Linked DNA regions of Homo sapiens: regions 1, 2, 3, 4, 5 and 6 are each linked to region 7. Evidence: promoter capture Hi-C in 16 types of primary human blood cells and fetal thymus (Javierre and others, 2016). All regions are on one chromosome and are shown on one strand. The core of a region is centred on a gene start or on the middle of the fragment in contact, and the rest is flanking DNA. Distances in the headings are between cores, read along the strand shown. Region 1 overlaps DAP-DT (DAP divergent transcript). Region 2 overlaps ANKRD33B (ankyrin repeat domain 33B). Region 3 overlaps MARCHF6 (membrane associated ring-CH-type finger 6). Region 4 overlaps MARCHF6 (membrane associated ring-CH-type finger 6). Region 5 overlaps MARCHF6 (membrane associated ring-CH-type finger 6). Region 6 overlaps DAP (death associated protein). Region 7 holds the start of FASTKD3 (FAST kinase domains 3).

Region 1 (3,057 bases), core at 261-2,760, 2.9 Mb before region 7:
TACCTTTGCCACAACCTTGCCTGGAATGCTAAGTGTAGCTTTTCTTTACCCAAATGCCCTGTGGTTCTTTGTTAAGGCCGTGAATAGTCATGTTGTAAGTCTCCAGTGAGCTACTGAAATTGTATATTTTCTTTTATTTTTTCCATGGCCAAAAGCATTTTATTAACTTGTGTCAGTGAAAAGCTTGTGAATGGTGCCCCAGAGGGTCCCTCCAAACCTGAAGGATGGCTTTGGGATTTGTTCTTATCTGGATTAACAGCAATTGTACTTCCCAAGCTCGGACCTTTTCTAAAATTGAGCAAGAACAGAGCTGGCTTTTCTGCAAACACACTGAGGACTAGGATCCGACAGAAGTCATTATTTACAACCCTCTCTAGCCTGCAAAGTCACACACAGATACTTCACCCTGAATGGAATAATTAATCAATTATAGGAAATCATTTGTTGAGAAGAAAGATGGTCTAAAAAAAAAACCAAGTAATTTCAGCAGGAAAAAAAAAGCTCTAAATTTTTTTAAGGAAATTACTTGCCATCTCTAACCCTAGAATAGTGAGAGCAAATAAAGCTGAGATGGCAAGAGCCCAGAGGTATCTTCCAGACTCATGACCAGGCATAGGCTTGTTAATATAGACTCTTAGCAATTCTTGGGGAACTTCAAGGTTGTGATACAAAGAATTTAGCCCATGTTCATATTGAGTCCTATTATAGAGCTGAACTCACCAATAAATTAACTTAAATCTAATAAAATGGCCATACTTAAAAACGCTTTCTATCATGAGGTGATCAGGTTGACATCTTCAGTGATTAGTCATATTAATAACATTATGTTAATAATCACATTAACATAATGTGATAAAAAAAGGTCACTATGATCTTCCTTCCAAAAACCTGTAACTCCTGTTTTTAACTATGAGAAAAACATCAAACACAAATTAAGGGACAATTTACAAAATAAGATAGCTAAAAAGAATCCTTGTCTATTTTTGTCTGGAAGCCTGGAGGGACGTACAACAGAATGTTACAAGTGGTCAACTTTACCTGCTGGTAGGATTGTTGAGAAGTGGTGACTTGCTTTTTCCTTTGGACATTAATCTGTTATTTAGGTTTTCCAAAGTGTATTTTTTTGTATTTTTTAAAAAACTTATTCATAAAAATTAATTCTTTCTTGAATGTAGTCAAAACGTCCATATGGCCAGTAAGAGAAGATACAACATGCTCCTTTGGAGGAAAAAATAACCCAGGCCAACAGCCTCTTCTTTGAGACCTTCTTCACTTCAAAGCCTGTGAAAACAGCCCTTCTGAAAAATGGTGTCACTAATGCTATCAAAACTCTGAGATTGCCAAAACTACCTCTAGGAGGCACATAGTACAGCACGAGGGCTGTAAATGCTAAGACATAATATTGAATAACTATTTGAATCTTCAAGTAAGATAGGTATTATGGCCTCCAATATGGAAATGTAATTACAGAATGCATAAGTAGCTTGCACAAGGTCAAATAATGACTCAATGCAAGAGCTAGACATAAAATTTTCCTTACCACTTCCCATTTCTCTGCTAAAACACATTTTTTATAAATAACTTACAAAGCATTCGAAATTCCCTAGAAAATCAATATTCATGGTTGTGTTACTCTCAACTTTTTTGCAGTTTCTATTTTCTAACTTTTAAATAAAGATAAGAGGAATATTTTGCCAAGGTTCAGCCTGGTTATTTTTTTCTTCAAATACTGTTAACTAAAGTATAACCTCATATGTGACTAAAATGGACCTCCATGCTCTTTATTAGCTGTTGAATTACTTTTGAAAAATGCCTGAAACTGTCACTGAGTGATAAGTTGAGGCCCAGTGAAATCCCAAAGATCCCTCACTTGTGTGTGTGTGTGTGTGTGCACACGCACATGTGTGTATATGTGTGTGTAAAATATATTCTATCATTTTTATTTGATTTTGAGATATGTATATCCTCTTCAAGTGTTTTATGTGTATGTGTGTATGTCAAAAATTACATTAAAATTAATTTAAAGCCTACACTACATAGTATAATAAGAAATATCCTAGATGTTACAAAGCAAAGTCAAGAATGACTGACGCTCTCCCCTTATGAGCAAAATTAACAATGGAGGAGAAATCAGAGAAATCCTGGGTCATTGTCTTGGTCCATTTTATGCTACTATAACAGAATACCTGAGACTGTGTAATTTATAAAAAACAAATATTTATTTCTCACAGTTCTGGAGGCTGGGAAGTCCAAGGTCAAGGGCCCACATCTGGTGAAGGCCTTCTTGGTGTGTCATCCCATGGTGGAGGGTGGAAGGGCAAGAGAACACGTGAAAGAAGAGGAAGGAGGGCTGAATTCATCCTCTTATCGGGAGCCCACTCCTGTGATAACAGCATAAATCCATTCATGAGAACAGAGCCCTCATGAGCCAGTCACTTATTAAAGATCCCACTTCTCAACACCATTGCATTGGGGATTAAGTTTCCAACACATGAATTTTGGGAGACACATTCAAGCCATAGAAGTAGTAAATAAGAATACAAAATTCTCATCTATCAGACAACAGCACAAGAAGACAGGAAACAGAAACCAGCCTGGAATAAAGAAAGCAATATTCATCGAAGTGATTGTTATGTGGGATTATTTTAATACACACTGGGACTATTCGTATATTTCATGAATGCTGATAAAAAGAAACTCCCTTTGCAGTAATAACAGTACATTCTCTAGTATATTATGGCTTACAAAACACTTTTAAATTTACAATGGATAAGATAGCAAGAGCTGGGTTCTCTTGGGTCTCCCCACACTAGCTACCAATCCTTGCACCAAGCTTAGAAAATCCAGCTACAGATCCAATTTCTCCATCAAAAAAGGGCAGAGAACCCCCTGTGTCTCAGGATCCTGTAGGGGGTAAGTGGGGTGACACGGAGCTGTACGGGCATAATCATGTTTAGTCAAAGCCCTTAATTCTCACAACCTTCCTGGGAGAGGCATTAGTGTTCACATCTCTGACTTGCAGATGAGGACACTGAGACTCAGAAAGGTTTAGTGATG
Region 2 (2,971 bases), core at 127-2,626, 2.7 Mb before region 7:
GGAGTCTCGCTCTGTTGCCTAGGCTGGAGTGCAGTGGCACAATCTTGGCTCACTGCAATGTCCGCCTCATGGGTTCAGGCGATTCTCCTGCCCCAGCCTCCTGAGTAGCTGAGACTACAGTCATGCACCACCACGCCCATTTTTTTTTTTTTTTTTGTATTTTTTTAGTGGAGACAGGGTTTCACCATGTTGATCAGGCTGGTCTCGAGCTCCTGACCTCAAGTGATCCACCCGCCTCAGCCTCCCAAAGTCCTAGGAATATAGGCGTGAGCCCCCGTACTCAGCCTGCTGTTGCTATTCTTGATTACCAAGCTTCGTTTTAAAAGTCAAATTCAGTTCTCAGTCCTTCTAGAAGGAGTGGTGATGAAGATTGTGCAAAACACCAGACCACAGGTCACGAGAGGACGCCTAAGACGACATGCTCAGGCTGCCAGGAATAGGCATTTGTGCTCCTCCTAGAGAGGGCTAAAGGAAACTGCTGCTAGGAGGCACTCAGTAACAAGGAGCTTTAAATAAGAAGATGAACTCACAGACAGTCCAGCAGGAAAACAAGCAGCTGGAAGCTCATCGTCCAGTGTGTTTCACTGTCCCAAGTAGACTTCAGTATTCCTCAAAAATGTCCCTGACAACACTCTCTATTCTCTTCCACTTATCATATACAGTAGCATGCACAGGAGGAAGATTCACTCAAGTATGGGCGACGGTCTGTGAAGAAGCTGGTGAAAGTACACACACAAAGTCTTTTTTAATTGTTTGAACCAGGACAATTCAGTTGCACTGGATTCAGCTGCAGTACTCACTGGCGTTATTCCGTTATCTATTTCTTCCTGCCTCTTGGTAAAATTGCATTTCCCCACCCTTTCTGAGTTCTGACTTGACCATCTGGTTTGCTTTGGGTAATTAAACGTAAGTGAAATAGCAGGTGTCACTTCCAGGAGGAAGTTTCGAGAGACGGTGGACGATGTGCCACCTTCCCTTTTCTTGACTTGACTGCCCTTGAAGCTCAGAGATGCAACTGCTCCCAGACTGGGCCTCCGGAGTGAGGGCAGAGAGAGCAGAGCCCTGCCCCCTCTAGCCGGCGCACAACAGCATGAATGAGCGAGAGGCAAACCTTTGTTATTTTAAGCCACTGGGACTTGAAGTGGTTTGTTATCACAGCATCACAGTCTATTCTGAGTGTGTGTGTGTGCGTGTAACAGTAGCATACATCATCTATTCATGTGTCAGGTTGCCTACTTTCTTTTTCCCTTGGGAAGAACTGTCCTTTATTTTAAGATTATGTCTTTGATACTTGATTGGGCACAAAATGTACTTATAAAATGGGCTGGGCGTGGTGGCTCATGCCTGTAACCCCAACACTTTGGGAGGCTGAGGTGGGTGGATCACTTGAGGTCAGGAGTTCAAGACCAGCCTGGCCAACATGGTGAAATCCTGTCTCTATTAAAAATACAAAAAAATGAGCCAGGTGTAGTAACGCACACCTGTAATCGCAACTACTCAGGAGGCTGAGGCAGGAGAATGGCATGAACCTGGGAGGCGGAGCTTGCAGCGAGCTGAGATTGCGCCACTGCCCTCTAACCTGGGCGACAGAGCAAGACTCCACCTCAAAAAAAAAAAAAAAAGACAGAGTCTTGCTCTGTCGCCAGGCTGGAGTGCAGTGGCACGATCTCAGGTCACTGCAACCTCCACCTCGTGGGTTCAAGTGATTCTCCTGCCTCAGCCTCCCGAGTAGCTGGGACTACAGGCACTCGCCAACACGCCCAGCTAATTTTTGTATTTTTAGTAGAGACAGGGCTTCACCATGTTGGCCAGGATGGTCTCGATCTCTTGACCTTGTGATCCGCCCACCTTGGCCTCCCAAAGTGCTGGGATTACAGGCGTGAGCTACTGTGCCAGGCCAATATTTGTATTTTTATCTATGCTTTTCTGCTTCAAATAAAGAGATGCCTAATAAACTGTTTTAAATAAAGAAATGACATTTTATTAATAAAATAAATAAATATGTAAAATACATCAAGATAATTCCTTCCAACATGGGGTCACCTTGTAGCCCTGTAATCAGGATTTGATAAATTCAAGGTTGTCAGTAATTCAAAACAATTTCCCTTTAGACTAAATTTTGCATAAAACGTAAATCTTATTATCACTGCAAACCTCTCGCTGGGATTTATGATTTTAGATTAGTAATGTATGAAACCACTACTTTGTTCAACTGTATTCCCTCTGCCAACTTCATGTATATACCTAATCTATTCCTATCTCAGAGGCTCATCTAATTTTCCCAACACTGGGAGTGGTTTCCACGCAGTGATCATACAAGCATTATGTGATGAAAGAAAACTAAGCCTGTTAACCGTTGACCTGAAGGCAGTGACTGTCAGTAACAATTACATGTTCTTCCAACCATTGATTCACTTAATCTTTCTGAAATTAAGCTTGGAATTTTTACAACAGATGTACAAAGCTCGACAGAGAACTTAAAGGAACTAGCAAGGCTAGAAGAGCGGAACACAGAAACTCACTCAGCCAGGCATGGTGGCTCATGCCTGTAATCCCAGCAGTTTGGGAGGTTGAGGCAGGCGGATCACCTGAGGTCAGATGTTCGAGACCAGCCTGGCCAACATGGTGAAACCCTGTCTCTACTAATCATACAAAAATTAGCTGGGCATGGTGGCGAGTGCCTGTAATCCCAGCTACTTGGGAGGCTGAGGCAAGAGAATCACTTGAACCCGGGAGGCGGAGGTTGCTGTGAGCTGAAATCTTGCCACTGCACTCCAGCCTGGGCAACAACAACAAAACTCCACCTCAAAAAAAAAAAGGAAGAAGAAAAGGAAAGAAAGAAACTCAATGAGAAAGAGGTCATGCAGGGGATGAATTACAACAGCAAAAACACAGACCCTGTCCTAGTACCATGTATGTCTGTCATGAGTATACTTTTCTTATTCATTCCATACCCTGTACTTCTAATATT
Region 3 (2,931 bases), core at 167-2,666, 2.5 Mb before region 7:
GCCATGAACCTCATACAAGGCCCATTTACACACATTTTAACATTCAACCAATATAATCATCTGGTTTCCCAAACTATAAAAGATGTAATAAAGCAAACAGGAGCAAAAGATGAAGCTGACAACAAGCCATCAACACTCCCCCAAATATAAGCATTAAATAGCACTCAAAAAGCACAACAGTCCGCAGCAGATCATTTCATGTGGGAGCAAACATCCCACTGACATTTGTTAGCCACTTTCCCGATGTTAGCATAATACTTAAAATTTCAAATGATAAATTCAGATCTTCCCACTACTCTGAGAAATGTGGCTCAACACATTCAGAAAAAGAAAAGTTCTGCCACATTTAAAAAGGATTCCCTTTTAAAATGGTTCCAATAAAAAACCACTGCCTATTATCAAAAACCTCTACCACAGGTAGCTCGGAAAGAACATAAAGGAAAAACAAACAATTCTTTCTCCAGTAAGGCCAAAACAAGAAATTATGATATATCAGGGTTTAAAAGCAATGATCTAAAATTTATAAGAACACTATCACAAAACTGTTCACACCTATAAACATTGAGAAATAAACAACTGACAAATAGCACCTTTTTTTTTTTTTTTTGAGTCAGAGTCTCACTCTGTTGCCCAGGCTGGAGTGCGGTGGCATAATCTCAGCTCACTGCAAACTCCGCCTCCCAGGTTCAAGTGATTCTCCTGCCTCAGGCTCCCAAGTAGCTGGGATTACAGGCGTCTGCCACCACACCTGGCTGATTTTTGTATTTTCAGTAGAGACAGGGTTTCCACCATGTTGGCCAGGCTAGCCTCAAACTCCTGACCTCAGGTGGTCCGCCTGCCTCAGCCTTTCAAAGTGCTGGAATTACAGGGGTGAGCCACAGCACCTGGCCACAAATAGCAACTTTTAATGGCACATGCCCACAGATCATTGACTTCGATAGGATATCTGGTATACAAGAGCAAGTCATTAAAACCAGGAATAATAGAGATTTTTTGCAAAAGATAAAAGAAATAGAGAATGTAACTATCAAATGAAAATTAAAATGTACAAAACAAGCTTCTATTGGCCTCAAAGTAAAAGCCCACATATTTCCTATCAACTGAATTTCATGAAGATACTCAACTAGTTAGTCTTAGTTTCCTATGAATCTTGACAAGCTGTACAGCTTTTACGTACTACAGAAAATTAATGACTACAAAATAACAGAATTGACTTTTTTATGATGAATATACAGCTCCAAAAGTGAAAATGTAATAACTTTAATCATTTATACTCATCAAATAAAAACAAAGTAAAACACTAAGTTACAGCATTTATATCGAGAAGCTCAAGATGCTTAAACACACACACACACACACACACACACACACACACACAACTAAAACACAAAAATCCTTTGTAAGGGAAGGCAATATAGGGGATCCCAGAATGAAAAATTATGCTTCAAATATTTAATAACTTGCCAGCACAGTCCTCTACTTATTTGAGATAAAACATATTAAATATTAATAGGCACAGGAATCATAGTTAAAACCTTAAAGGCTGCAAAAATATTTTATAAAGGCTTATGAAATATTGACCTTAAAAGTTAGCCTCATGAAAAAAACGGTAATTTAAAACTTTGTTTGGCCAAGCAATGTGGCTCAAGCCTGTAATCCCAACACTTTGGGAAGCTGTGACAGGAGAATTGCTTGAGGCCAGGAGTTCAAGAACAACCTGGGCAATATAGTGAGACCCTCTCTCTATTTTTTATTATTTTTTTAAAAAAAGCTTGCTGGGCGCGGTGGCTCACGCCTGTAATCCTAGCACTTTGGGAGGCTGAGGCAGGCAGATCATGAGGTCAGGAGATCGAGACCATCCTGGCTAACATGGTGAAACCCCGTCTCTACTAAAAATACAAAAAAATTAGCCAGGTGTGGTGGTGGGCACCTGTAGTCCCAGCTACTCGGGAGGCTGAGGCAGGAGAATGGCGTGAACCCGGGAGGCGGAGCTTGCAGTGAGCTGAAATCACGCCATTGCCCTCCAGCCTGGGCAACAGAACAGAGCGAGATTCTGTCTCAAAAAAAAAAAAAGCTTTATCTTTATGACTATTATTCTAACCTATACAACTTTAACTCAAAATGTAGTCCAAATTTGAAGAGTACTGAATATTTGATGAAATCAAGGCATCATTGTTTATTTTTCTAGGTGGATAATGGTATTATAGTTACGTTTTTGAAAAAGAACCCTTACCTTTTAGAGATACATACTGAAGTATGTACAGATGAAATTACAAATGGTAGAATTATTTTTTAAATAATAGAGAAAAAAATAAAAGGATAAAGAGGCAGGGAACAAGAGTGTATGTAAAACAAGACAGGCTATGAGTTGACACTAAGTGATGGGTTCATGTGGACTTGTTAGATTTTTGCATGTGTTCGAACCTGTCTACAATTAAAAGTAAATAAATTTTAAAGACAAAAAAAAACACCCCACAAATCTCAAACATGTGTGTGATAAAAGACAGCATACAGTTTTTCAAAATATTTTCCTAAATATCAATACTTCCTATTACTATCAAAAAAAATCAAGCTGAAAATAATTGCTTTAAAGTGCTTAAGCACTTTTATCCCCCTTCCTCTGTCAACTGATCATATCAAACACCTTTATGCCACGAGTGATAACCAAAAAAAATGCAGTGAAAATGTCTAAAGAACTTACTTGGTGTAAAAGCAAATCTGTGCTTGCATAATTCACAGTATTCTTTTCGACTGTGTTTCAGCCATTGAACTAAGCTGTAATTATAAATAGATTCATAAGTACAGTGTTTACAGCAAAGAAACATTACAGTTTTGTCGAAAACATTGTTTTTATTAAAAATGTATATATCACAGAGCTTTTAGTTTCAAAATTTTCAAATTTAGAATATTCTTAACTTTTTGTAACTGCCT
Region 4 (2,958 bases), core at 44-2,543, 2.5 Mb before region 7:
CCACAGGAATAGCGTTGTTATTTCGAGCATGCTGATTATTGTTAACTTGTTGATTTGCACTGTTTTCATTTTCTTCCTGGTCTCCCAATAAATAAGAATGAAGATCCCTGTGCAAAAATTACATCAGTAACAAGTCTCACTTCAGGTCACAATAAAATGGCAGACATGACACTCATTTTCTTCATATTTACTACTAAGGGTAGAAAATGTATAATACAGAATTTGTGCACCACATTATTACCTAATTTTGGTCTAAATGTTTGTACCCACTTTAAATCAAACCTTTCTAATGTTAATGAACTTGTAGGATATCCCATAAATTCAACCTATTTTACGTTTTCTTCAGCCAGTATCTGAGAAGAAATCAGTAACTGAAAGAAAAAAGTACAATGTACAAGATACTTACAAGTACACTTGTAAGTACAAGAGGTAAGTACTTACAAGCACAAGGTGTAAGTACATACTTACAATGTACAATATTGTTAAGGATCTACAGGAGGAAAAGAAAAACTTCTTATCTTCTCTACAGATGACTACTGCAACATGTAGCTACAAGCTATAAATTTGTAAAACCTCCAAGCTATAAATCAGTTAGGTCAGAAATGAGACTGGGGGAGGAAGCAGTTAGAGGACGACAGATGTTCAAGCAAATATAACCAAATCTGTACTTCACCTTTAAGATACCTACAAGATGCCAAACTGAAAAACTTTTAAAGATTCAACTTTTAAATAAATATAGAGTATATAAAGCTTGGGGAAAAAAATGCAACATGTTCACTAGAAGATTGAGAAATCAAATTTGAGAAGAACCCATTTCCCAGGTTATGAGCACTAAATAAAGGTAAGTTAGTTGGTCTAAATAAAGGTAAACTGGTTTGTTTTTAATGCACTAAAAAAAAAAAAGACATTTACTCCATGAAAGCTGGACCAGCAGCAAACTTCTATAAGAGGGCAAAAAGATGTATATATTCTCCATGAAAGGATGGACAATAAGAAAAAAAAATTTCATTTAGAAGTATTATATGCAATTGCAAATATTACTAAATTGTCTCTTATTAAAACTAATTTTTCTTGAGTGGGCCATGGAACATACTTTTTCCAGAAAGGTTATTCCATAGTCACAAATGACATGCATGTCCAAGGAGTCAGCTGCCCATACTCACAGCAAGTATCCGGCGGTCACAGTCCACGCTCGCACCAGCCCCTTCAGCCACTGCCTCGTGTGTCCCTGTTCGAGTAATGCTGGCAAGACAACCTGAAGCAGAAGCAGCTCGAGGGACAGTTCACTCACTGGAGCATCACTGAAAGAGGCAGGATTTATAATGTGAATTGTATTTTGCATATGACTACTATTTAATGGGATTACAACGCAACTTCTTAAGAATCTAATAAACTTACTGTCTTTATTACCTCTCCTTTCATTCTCTCTCCAACTCAGTGAGGCTTTCCCCACAAACTCCACCAAATTGTTTCTGATAAGGGTCACCAAAGACTTTCATTTTGCTAAACTGATGGGTAGGTCTTGGTTCTCTCCTCACTTGCTATATTAGTAGCATGTTACACAAAAGGTCACTCCTTCCTTTGACACCTCACATCCAAACAGCTAGAGAATCCTTTTGACTGTACCTTAACAATATCCTAAAAATTTCTCAAGGCCTCCACTGCTACCTCCCCTTCATCTCTGCCACCCTCACCTCTCACCAGGATCATTGCATTATCCTCCCAGCTGGCTTCCTGTTTCTGACCTAGCCACTCCAACCCAGTTTCCTCTCATCACAGCAGTCAGAATGATCCTCTTTAAACCTAAGTTAGATCACTCCTTTGCTCAAAGCTTTCCAAGAGCTCCTCAATTCACTCAAGCAAAAGCCAAAGTGCTTATGTCGTGTAAGACTCTCTAGGAGGTGGCTCTCCATGACCTTTCTGACTTCAGGGCCAATTCTTTGCCTTCCTCCTCCTACTACAGACAAACTTGCCTCCCTGCAGATCCTCAAACAGACCTGGGTGCCACTGCACCTACTTTCTGCAAGAATATTCTGCCTTCAGGGATCCACGTGGCTCACTCTCTCAACTCCTTCAGGGCTTTCCTCAACTGTCACCCCCTCAGGTCTTTACCAGTCACTATTCCTAAATTGTAACCCCATCCTGCCCACTTTCTATACCCTTACTGGCATTTTTTCTGCCACTTTAAATAATCAGGATATAAGTATTTTCCAATTCTAATTTAATAAAATACAAATTTGAGATTTTACTATGTGTAGAGTAAACCTTTTATTTTTGAACAATCATGTTCCTATGCAAAGCATTAAGATCCAAATAAGAGGCTGGGCGCAGTGGCTCACACCTATAATCCCAGCACTTTGGGCGACCAAAGTGGAAGGATTGCTTGAGGCCAGGAATTCAAGACCAGCCTGGGCAATATAGTCAGACCCTGTCTCCACAAAATATTTTTTTAAATTAAAAAAAGAGAGACAGAGAGAAAAAGACCTAAATAAGACATGATTTCTGCCATCTGGGATAAAACAATACATATTTGTAAAGTAATGTAACAAATGCTATAAAAAGAAATACAACGATGAAGACAATTTTAAAGGATGGAATGATGGCCAGGCACAGTGGCTCATGCCTGTAATCCTAACATTTTGGGAGGCTGAGGCAGGCAGATGGTTCAAGCTCAGGAATTCAAGACCAGCACAGGCAACATGGTAAAACCCGGTCTCCCCAAAAAATACAAAAATTAGGCAGGTGTGGTGGCTTGCGCCTGTAGTCTCAGCTACCCGGGACGCTGAAGTGGGAAGATCACTTGAGCCCAGGAGGTTGAGGCTGCAGTGAGCCATGATCATACCACTGCACTACAGCCTGGGTGACAGAGCGAGACTCTTTCTCATAAAAAATAAAATAAAATTTAAAAACCTTAATCTGGATTTTAAAAAGAATATCAAATGCTTGCCACTCAAACGT
Region 5 (3,212 bases), core at 304-2,803, 2.6 Mb before region 7:
TGCCTCAAAAAAAAAAAAAAAAAGGAACTGGACGAGATGACTTCTCATGTTCCACAAGCAGTGGTGTCATTGATACATTTCTACTGCACCACAGTTTAAAGAAGCAAAACCAAAACTGTGCTTATATAATAAAAAAATCCTCAAACTTTTAGAACACACATGTATTTATTTTTCTATATTTAACTCATGAGTTTTAATACTTCTTTGGCAGAGGGGACTGGGGGGCTTTAAAATCAGAGCAAGTACTTTCGAGGAATTCAGAAAATTAATACCGTCAGGTGGATTATTCCAAACACCACAATAGTGTGCTGTGCATAAGCTCTGGAGCTGAGTTTGAAATCTGAATGCTGCTCTTACTCCTTAAAAACCAGACTTTGGGGTAAGATTCTCAATCTCTATGAACCTCAATTTCCCATTTCTAAAACAGAGTTGACAAAACATATTAAAAAGCTACCCTAAGAATAACATGTAAGAATTACATAAAGCATCTAAACAGGGCAAAACAGGTACCAACATTTTTCATTTGCCACTCTTTTTCCCTTCCAAAGTCTTTCCAGAAATGCTCACAATAAAATTTTTAAAAATGAAAACATGAATGACTGGGTTGGAAATCCAAATTCTTAAGTCTATATACTATTAATGGGCAGAACATAATATATGCTAATTAGAATAAAAAAGAAAATAGGGCATTCCTACTCTAGACAAAACCAGTAAAGAGATTGTTCTAAAGAGTCAAAATAATTTAATTTTAAAGACGTATTCAACTAATAAGCAATGCGCTGGGTGTGGTAGCTCATGCCTGTAATCCCAGCACTCTGGGCGGCCGAGGGGGGTGGATTATCTGAGGTCAGAAGTTCAAGACCAGCCTGGCCAACATGGTGAAACCCTGTCTCTAACAAAAAGACAAAAATTAGCTGGGCATGGTGGCGCATGCCAGTAGTCCCAGCTACTCAAGAGGCTGAGGCAGGAAAATCGCTTGAACCCAGGAGGTGGAGGTTGCAGCGAGCCGAGACTGCACCACTGTACTCCAGCCTGGGCAAAAGAGCGAGACTCCGTCTCTCAAAAAAAAAAAAAAAAAAAAAAAAAACTAAAAAGCAATGGGCTTTGAAATATATTTTGCAGGAAATATATATTTGCATTTTAATATGGTATTTATGATACTTGGCATAGTCACAATTCAAACCAAATAAAAGCCTTGAAGTTTCTACTTAGAAGGAACCAGGAAATGATGCAGTTTGCACACTGTGGGCCCTCAGCTTAACTGTTCCCTGTTTCCCATGCCATCCTGCAGACTGAGGGATACATTGCTCAGCCTCTCTCTATACAAACCTGTGTTGAGCAATTTTTTTTTTTTGAGACAGGGTCTTGGCCTGTTGCCTGGGCTAGATTGGAGTGTCACAACCTGAGGTTAGCCCTGAACTCCTGGGTTCAAGCAATCCTCCTGCATCAGCCTGCAGGGCAGCTGAGATTACAGGTGTGCGCCACCACTCCCAGATAATTTATTTTTATTTTTTTTAGAGGTTGGGTCTCGCCATGTTGCTCAGACTGGTCTTCAATTCCTGGCTTCAAGCAACCTCCCACCTCAGCCTCCCAAGTAGCTACTGCACATGGCTAATATCTTTACTGTCTAAGAAGCAATGAGACTATTAGAAGTCAAACCAGTGGCAAAAGGTAAAGAAGGGCACACACACAAAGGGCTTCCAAAGGGCTGGAAAAGTTCTATTTCTTGACCTAGTAAGGTAACATACAAGTATACATGTTACACTGCAAGTTTGGTTGTGTGTTTTTTTTAAGCTCCTCTCTCACGGTTAAAGGGAGGACGGGGTCATTTCTGGCAGATGGATAAGACAAATGAAAATGTGGAGACAGTTATGGAGAGGACATTGTGTGTTTGATAAGAGGCCATTCCATGGTTGTTTAATCAAAACTCAGAGTATATGACATGGAGTGAGGTCAAACTGAAGCCCACATCAAAGCAAAAGGAGGAGCCTTGTAAACTATGCCAAAAGGTTGGACTGCATTAAAGGCCACAGAGGAACCAATGAAAAAAATGTTCACCAAAGAGGTACAATGAGATTCATTCTTTTGAAAGGTCATTGTGCCCAGTGTGGAGAAGGAATTAGTGATGGCAGGTTCAAGGCTGGGAAACCAGATAGGAAGGTGCCAAAGTTAGGGTAGGAGACGAATGACTCAACAAAAGTCAGGAGCAAAGGCTCCAGAGACGAGAGACCAGATTCTTCAGGGAAGAATGGGACACTTGGAGACCAGAGGGACATGGAGGACAGAATAAGGTGACATGGATAGCCTTCAAGGTTTCTGACTTATGCAATTTGTTGGATGATAATGTTTGCTGCTGAGAGACGGAATTCTGGAGAAGAAAAAGATTTGGGAAGGAAAAGTCTCTGCTTATAATTTTGAAAATATGTTGGGTTTAAGGAGCTATGAGGAGTCTTCACTACACAATCAACAAGACAGTGTATTTCAGTATAAACGTGTTGCCCATTAGCATCTCCTCTTTGGATCTTTTATGCCAAAGAATATTTCTTTAAAACTTAAATACAACAACACTGTTACTTAATTTTATATGATCACAGCACTTCTAGTCAGAAGAAGACAACCTGAAGGAAATCTGATCCTGCCTATTTTGTACAGCATGTAAATTTCAAGTTTTATCTTCTGGTAGAGAAAAGAACTGTATCAAAGAGCTTTATGATCCTCTAATCTTACCCAGAATAGTCAAATCTAAGAAAAGTGGTATTTTGAAATCATTGTCTTAGCTGGATTCACATTTACAAATAAAGCATATGGAGTGAGACATCCTTTTTACTAGGGGTAAAGAGAATGTCCAATGTTAATAAAAGTGCTCCTTCAAGGCTCCACAACCAGCATTACGTACCTAGTAAAGGAACAACACCAGAAGCTATGACATAAGGTACACACAGGGAAAGCAACAGCACAGAGATCACGGGAGCTGCCAGTTTACGAACAATATAGTGAAGGTCAATGTTCCGGATGCCATTTGCGTAAACCTGAAACATTACAAAAAGCAATTAGAACAAAGATACAAGACAAATTCCTCCAAGTTAATACAGCAATCTCCACACAACTGAATCTGCCAACCCAAAAATAGTCAAACTGGTTACTTCTTCTAAAGTCAAGGCAAATTCTGGTATATCAACATAAGCATAGTGCCCACGAGTTTCTGAAGAAAT
Region 6 (3,100 bases), core at 172-2,671, 2.9 Mb before region 7:
TGACCCTGCTTTCTAGCCAGCACCCCACTCTCCCGAACGCCTCTCTCTTCTTAATAGTCTGAGGAGGTTTATCTCCTTTCTGCAGATGAAGCAGGGAATCTTTGAGAATCTGAGACACTAGTCTGAGACCACATAGCTGAGGGCGTGGAGGAACGTGCCGACCCCAAACACATGCTGGTGGCTACCATGCGAGGCTGGCTTTTTGGATTTAGGGCCAGCCAGCATTTCCAAATTCTGTTCATGGAACACTGTAGCCCTGATGGAGGATAACTGGTATTATAGCCAAAAAAAAAAAAAAAAAAAAAGTTGTGTGGTCAGATAGGCTGGGGAGAGCTGGCAAGCTGTATGCCTCCTGTAAGTCTTCCTCATGCAGGTAGCACACTAAGGGCCAAGAAGGTCTCTCTTGGGGAAACCTATTTAATTTTGTTCAACCTGGCATTTCCCACTCTTAATAGATGCTAGATTACCCGACCCCTTACAACACAGTATTAACATATTAGCCATAAAGGAATTGCACATCAAACCACAATAAGAGACCACTTCACACCCACTAGGATGGCTATAATTAAAAAGACACACAATAGTAAGTGTCGGGAACATGTGGAGAATTGGAACCCACACACTGGTGGGAATGTGAAATAGTGTGGAGGCTTTGGAAGACAGCTTGGTGGTTTTCAGAAGGATAAATTCAGAGGCACCATGTGGCCTGGCAGTTCCATTTCTCGGTATATACTCAAGGAAATGAAAACATATGTCCATACAAAAACTTACGTGTAAGTTCTTCACAGCTGCATTGTTCATAATAGCCAAAAAAGTAGAAACAACGCAAATGTCTAATTGATGAGTGGAGAGATACAATGTGATACATCCATGCAATAGAATATTTGACAAGAAGAGGAATGAGATACTTACACGTGCTGTAACATGGATGAACCTTGAAAACACGCTAAGTGCAAGGAGCCAGTCACCAAAGGCCACATAGTTTATAATTCCACTTATATCACATGTCCGAAATAAGCAAGTCCAGGTGACTGGCTTCCAGGAGCTGGGAGGGGTGGAATGGAGGGTAACTGTTCATGGCTGTGGGGTTTCTGTTTGGGGTGATGAAAATCTCCTAAAATTGATTATGGCAATGGTTGTACAATTCTGAATGCACTCAAAACCATCGAATTATACAGTTTAAATGAATGAATTGTATTCTACATGAATTACATATCTATAAAGCTGTTTTTTAAAACTAAGTTAACATCTGCCAGCGGTAGGGTTTCACAGCACAGTTTGGGCAAAGCTGCAGTAGAAGTTTTGTTGCCACTTGCCTGGGCTCTGTGAAGGCACAGTAGCTGTCCCATGTCACCCATCACCATATCACCCCATCAAAAACATCTTCGATATTTGAGAAAGTAAATTTCACAGGGGAGGGTTGAGGTGAGCTCTTGTGTTGAGACTGTGGAGAACTGAAAGCAGCAGCCACTCTCTTTGTGTAGTTTGTGCCCTCGTTACACTGCTGCTCTGACAAAATACTTGAAAGGTGACCAGATAGAAAAACAAGAGCCTTGGAAAGTTTCTGAGTGGATCTGTAGTAAGAGATTATGTTGAGTGCTGTATCATTTTGAATTTACCCCGACAACCCTGACCTTCCCTAGTTAATCATTTTCATTGCCAGATTCTCCAGACTGACTTGTGGCCACTGAGCAACCAGAACCTTTCCAGCTGGTCCCCCTGATCCACAGGCAGCCCCATTTCCACATTAATCCCACACTCTCTGTTTTCATTTCAGTGAAAGCTGGTGGAATGCGAATTGTGCAGAAACACCCACATACAGGAGACACCAAAGAAGAGAAAGACAAGGATGACCAGGAATGGGAAAGCCCCAGGTGGGATGATGCTAGCGACTCTTGAGCATGTTTTCCAAAAACCCTATTCGGTTAAGCATTAACATTTGTTCTCTGTTCTATGATTCTGATAACTCCTGGGCTATGTGGGGCCCTGTTCTGTGTATTTTTCCCTTCCTAATCAGGGAGGAGGGGGCTTTGTTTTCAGTCAGGGGAGAAAATAGAGCCCCTAGAGGTCCTCTTTCCTGAGCAGTTGCCACGCGCCCACCCTGTTCCCCACCCCACACCCAGGGGCTGGTGCCCCGTCTGTCTGCACAGTTAGAGACCTACCTCCACCTGCCCAGGTGCCTGGGTTTAGCCAGTGTGCCTCCCTTCCTGGAAGCCAGGGCAAGCCAAGCCAAGCAGGAGCAGCTTCCTGTGGCTCATTGGTTTTCTGATGGTGGACACAGCTGCCAGCCACCCTCTTCCCAAGGCTGGACCACCAGAGTGGACGAAGTAGGCAAATTCTTGCACCTGTGAGTCTTTTGTACTCCAGGTTTCTGTTGTCATTCCAGAGAAACAAATACTAACAATTTCTGGGCAGTAGTTTGCAACTTAGGCTTCCATACTGAAATCACATGGAGACCCTTGAGAATTGCCGCACTAGTTGAACCTCAGGGGTGGACCTGGCTGTCTGTGTAGCTGGGGCAAGAACTTCTGATTTCAGAATGGTTGAAGCATTTCCTCCCTCGGATCATCAGCCAGATCTAGAATTACAAGGCCATGCCCTTATGAGTGACTGGGTGTCCTTATATGATACCTCTGCTGCCAACCCTCCTGGGGCCTGCACAGGGGTCTCCTTGCAGACCCCTCCTCCCCTGCTCAACACCTATTTTCCTTAAAGGTTCAGATTTCCAGTTGGGTTCAGGGACCTTGAAAGGAATCCATTTCTCTCGACTTTGCAATACGCAAACAGGCACCACTAACACACCTCTGCGGGAGCTCGTCCACGTAGAAGAAAGCACTAAGCTCTCTACTTATACAGCCTGTCTCCAGATGATGTCTCAGTCAGAAGAGGAGAGGGTGTGGAAGGGGAAAGAGGCTGTGGAAAGAAGCTAACCTTGATTCCTGTGGATTAGGCCCATGCTTTTATTTCATTTCATTCCAGCAGTCCTGAATAGTAGGTGGTATTCTCCCCAGTTTATGTACAAGGAAACAGAACCCCAAAGAGGATATCAGCTTGCCCATATCATGCACCGTGCTAGGTAACGTAGCAGGAAGTTCAACCC
Region 7 (2,895 bases), core at 1-2,500:
TTGGTTCTTATTTGATCCTAACGCTAAACAAACTAATCATAGTACTAAAGGTAACTGAAGCACATACTCTCCTTCATTATTTAATGCAAATCAAAAATATGTGAGTGTATGGGCATATATACAAACGGGTGCATATAACGAAAAAATATTTCCAATCCACTTAAACATTTTACTAACACGTTTTTCCGCAAGAGATAAGCAGTAGTAAAACAAACGACACTCACAGATTTTTTTCCATACTCATCTAACGGCTAAAATTGGTGGGCTGTCAATTTGCAGAGACAGATTTAAACTGAAACCCAAACCAAAAGCTTGGCTTTCGGTGAATGAACCGCCCAGAACGGCACCTGGCATGAAACTGGTACTCGATAAGTTATCTGAATGAGTGAATAAACAATATGAAAACACTACACATTGACAGCTCACAGAAAACGGTGGAAACGATAATGAAAACCTTACTACAGCTAAAATTTCTATCACTTCCCATGAAACACACATCCTGAGGGCTTCCCAGGATCAATCAACCCCTCATCCCTGCTACTGCCCCACAATCCGGCACCACCTTCCCACGACTCTCAGCGGAGGCCCGGGCCCCAGCAGCCCCGGAAGCGGCGCGGAGGCGGTGGGCAGAGCTCACGGCCGCGGGCAGAACTCACGGCCGCGTCCCGCCGGGTGGGCGCTCGGAACGTCCCGGGTTCCCCGGAGCGCGCCGCCCCAACCCGGCATGTTCCCCAGTTCCCCGCGTCCCCGAGTGCGGTTTCCCTAGGCCTGGAAAGCGCCTAGAACCAAAGGCAGAACATGAGGAGAGACCCCACGCCGCCCAGGGGCCTCCCGCGGCAGAGGCCGACGCCGAGCCCAAGGACACGCTCCCGGGGACACCAAAGCCAAAGGCCAAAGGCCAAGTCCGAGCCCCAGCCCGCGCCCGCGGCGACCCCCGGAGGCCGAAGGGCGTGGGAACCACGGGCGCAAGCCGGCTGCCCACCCCCGCCCCGGGCCGCCTCTCCCAGGAGATTAGTGCAGGGCGAGCGGCCGGAATCCGGGAACCGTAGCCGACAGGCAGCTTACCCACGCCGCGCCAGCCGGGCACGAACCTGCACAACGCGACTTCCACCAACCTTGCGCCAGCGCGCACTGACGCAGCGCCCATGCTCGGTACCCAGGACCAATAGAAAGCTCCGAAGGGGACCTGGGCCAATCACATTGCGCCGCCCTGAGTCGTGCTCCCGCCCCGCGTTTGCTACGGAGGCCCACGACGCCCAGGCGCTTCCGCGACCACCCGGAGTGATTGCCCGGCAGAGCGCGGTAGGTGTCAACGCGGGGTCTCCGCGCAGTTGGTCCGGCTGGGTGTCAAAGACCTGGCCGGCTTTCTCCTCAGGCTGCGCCGCCCGGCCCGTGTCTCAGCGCAGGTCCCCGGGGCGCCGAGTTTGGGGGTGCTCGCCCCGCGGGTCCCTTTCATTCCTAGGAAAACGCGCCGCGGGGCCTCCCGTCTGTCTGTCTTGCACACACGTGTTGCCAAATCCCCCCGCACCGTCTTTAGATCTGGACTGGCCGCCCCACCTTCTCCCTTCATTGATCTATGTTTTGCTTTTTCTTTTCCTACCTTGTTTCCATTGACAAAGTAGACCCTTTCCTTCAACACTAACCTTCTCCCGACACCGAGGGGAAACCAACAGCTTAGGGCCTTTCCAGCGCGTTTTTACCCTTGCCTTGCTCTAACCTCGCCTAATTTTGCCCACTTTACCTGTTCTTTGATTTCTATCCAAATGCAATTTCTTCCTTCAACCAACATTTAAGGGCCACCCTTAAGAGCTACATTGCCTGAGTTTGAACCCTAGCTCTGCCACTTAACCACCTGCATAAACTGGGCAAAGTAACTTTGTGCTTCAACTTCTTCCTCGTGTAAAATGATAGTAAAAGTACTGAATCTGTGTAAGTTAATAGAATACCTACAACAGTGTTTAGCAAGTAATAGCGATTGTTATTGTTCAATGTCAGCCACTCTTCTAACTCTAGGATGCAGAGACTTTGCCCCTCTGGTGTTTATATGTTAACCATCCTTTTTTTTTTTTTTTTTTTTTTTCCAGATACTCGTTTGTAGTTTCATAAACATTGATGTTGGGTCAATCATGTTCTCAATGTATTTAACCATGTGTTTTTAAATTTTTTAATTTAGTTATCAAATTGAGAATCTGATGGTATGGCATTAATCACCTTGAGGAAGAACCTTTATCGTTTATCTGATTTTCAGATGCATAGAGCTCTGGCTGCTTTAAAAAATAAACCTCTAAATCATGTTCACAAGGTAGTCAAGGAGCGTCTGTGCCCTTGGTTGTGTTCACGACAACCTGAGCCTTTCGGGGTCAAATTCCATCATGCCCATTGTAAAAAGTTTCATTCGAAAAATGGAAATGACCTTCATCCACTCGGTGGACCAGTGTTCTCTCAAGTATCTGACTGCGACAGGCTTGAACAAAATGTTAAAAATGAGGAGAGTCAGATGTTTTACAGGAGACTGAGCAACTTGACTTCATCAGAAGAAGTGCTAAGTTTTATAAGCACGATGGAAACCCTGCCTGACACTATGGCAGCAGGAGCTTTACAACGAATTTGTGAAGTGGAAAAAAAGGATGGTGATCAAGGGCTGCCAAAAGAAATACTGGAGAATAGCATCTTTCAAGCTTTATGCTTTCAGTTTGAAAAGGAGCCCTCACAGCTGTCAAACACTAGTTTAGTGACTGCTTTGCAAGCTCTGATTCTGTTGCATGTGGATCCTCAAAGTAGCCTGTTGCTGAACCTGGTGGCAGAATGCCAAAATCGTCTCAGAAAAGGTGGCATGGAAGTTCGCAATCTTTGTATTCTTGGGGAAAGTCTGATTACACTGCACAGTTCAGGTTG

What was found. The method cuts DNA at HindIII sites, captures the fragments that hold promoters and counts their contacts. A CHiCAGO score of 5 or more calls a contact.
Region 1: a contact is called between a fragment that was not itself captured here and the fragment with the promoter of FASTKD3 in region 7, in 3 of 17 cell types (activated CD4 T cells, total CD8 T cells and naive CD4 T cells). The highest score is 10.2, in activated CD4 T cells.
Region 2: a fragment that was not itself captured here is called in contact with the fragment with the promoter of FASTKD3 in region 7 in 2 of 17 cell types (total B cells and erythroblasts); the score reaches 6.4 in total B cells.
Region 3: a fragment that was not itself captured here is called in contact with the fragment with the promoter of FASTKD3 in region 7 in 6 of 17 cell types (naive CD4 T cells, total B cells, naive CD8 T cells and 3 more); the score reaches 8.6 in naive CD4 T cells.
Region 4: a contact is called between a fragment that was not itself captured here and the fragment with the promoter of FASTKD3 in region 7, in 3 of 17 cell types (total CD4 T cells, total B cells and naive CD4 T cells). The highest score is 7.6, in total CD4 T cells.
Region 5: a contact is called between a fragment that was not itself captured here and the fragment with the promoter of FASTKD3 in region 7, in 1 of 17 cell types (total CD4 T cells). The highest score is 6.1, in total CD4 T cells.
Region 6: a fragment that was not itself captured here is called in contact with the fragment with the promoter of FASTKD3 in region 7 in 2 of 17 cell types (activated CD4 T cells and total CD4 T cells); the score reaches 6.4 in activated CD4 T cells.

What each region holds. Positions count from the first base shown.
Region 1 is chr5:10,766,948-10,770,004 of GRCh38, reverse strand. It overlaps DAP-DT (DAP divergent transcript), which reads right to left. Exons shown (of 3, transcript NR_187555.1): 2 at 2,230-2,381. Among named protein-coding and RNA genes, the nearest start is that of DAP, 7.2 kb to the right of the region's middle. The HindIII fragment of the contact is 2,650 bases long and covers 186-2,835 here.
Region 2 is chr5:10,605,382-10,608,352 of GRCh38, reverse strand. The region is part of intron 1 of ANKRD33B (ankyrin repeat domain 33B); the gene reads right to left. Among named protein-coding and RNA genes, the nearest start is that of ANKRD33B, 43 kb to the right of the region's middle. RefSeq lists an enhancer at 138-387 and a silencer at 1,058-1,107. The HindIII fragment of the contact is 2,123 bases long and covers 315-2,437 here.
Region 3 is chr5:10,378,603-10,381,533 of GRCh38, reverse strand. MARCHF6 (membrane associated ring-CH-type finger 6) reads right to left here. Exons shown (of 26, transcript NM_005885.4): 3 at 2,702-2,775. Among named protein-coding and RNA genes, the nearest start is that of MIR10397, 22 kb to the left of the region's middle. The HindIII fragment of the contact is 714 bases long and covers 1,060-1,773 here.
Region 4 is chr5:10,408,482-10,411,439 of GRCh38, reverse strand. It overlaps MARCHF6 (membrane associated ring-CH-type finger 6), which reads right to left. Exons shown (of 26, transcript NM_005885.4): 18 at 1,164-1,301; 19 at 1-107. Among named protein-coding and RNA genes, the nearest start is that of MIR10397, 7.6 kb to the right of the region's middle. The HindIII fragment of the contact is 1,081 bases long and covers 753-1,833 here.
Region 5 is chr5:10,426,207-10,429,418 of GRCh38, reverse strand. It overlaps MARCHF6 (membrane associated ring-CH-type finger 6), which reads right to left. Exons shown (of 26, transcript NM_005885.4): 24 at 2,897-3,029. Among named protein-coding and RNA genes, the nearest start is that of ROPN1L-AS1, 14 kb to the left of the region's middle. The HindIII fragment of the contact is 3,847 bases long and covers 1-3,212 here.
Region 6 is chr5:10,746,949-10,750,048 of GRCh38, reverse strand. It overlaps DAP (death associated protein), which reads left to right. Exons shown (of 4, transcript NM_004394.3): 2 at 1,778-1,874. Among named protein-coding and RNA genes, the nearest start is that of DAP-DT, 13 kb to the left of the region's middle. The HindIII fragment of the contact is 7,852 bases long and covers 1-3,100 here.
Region 7 is chr5:7,867,386-7,870,280 of GRCh38, reverse strand. FASTKD3 (FAST kinase domains 3) reads left to right here and starts at 1,250. Exons shown (of 7, transcript NM_024091.4): 1 at 1,250-1,302; 2 at 2,085-2,895. The coding sequence starts at 2,198. MTRR (5-methyltetrahydrofolate-homocysteine methyltransferase reductase) reads right to left here and starts at 1,133. Exons shown (of 15, transcript NM_002454.3): 1 at 1,066-1,133. RefSeq lists silencers at 631-680, 741-790, 801-1,240. The HindIII fragment of the contact is 2,367 bases long and covers 314-2,680 here.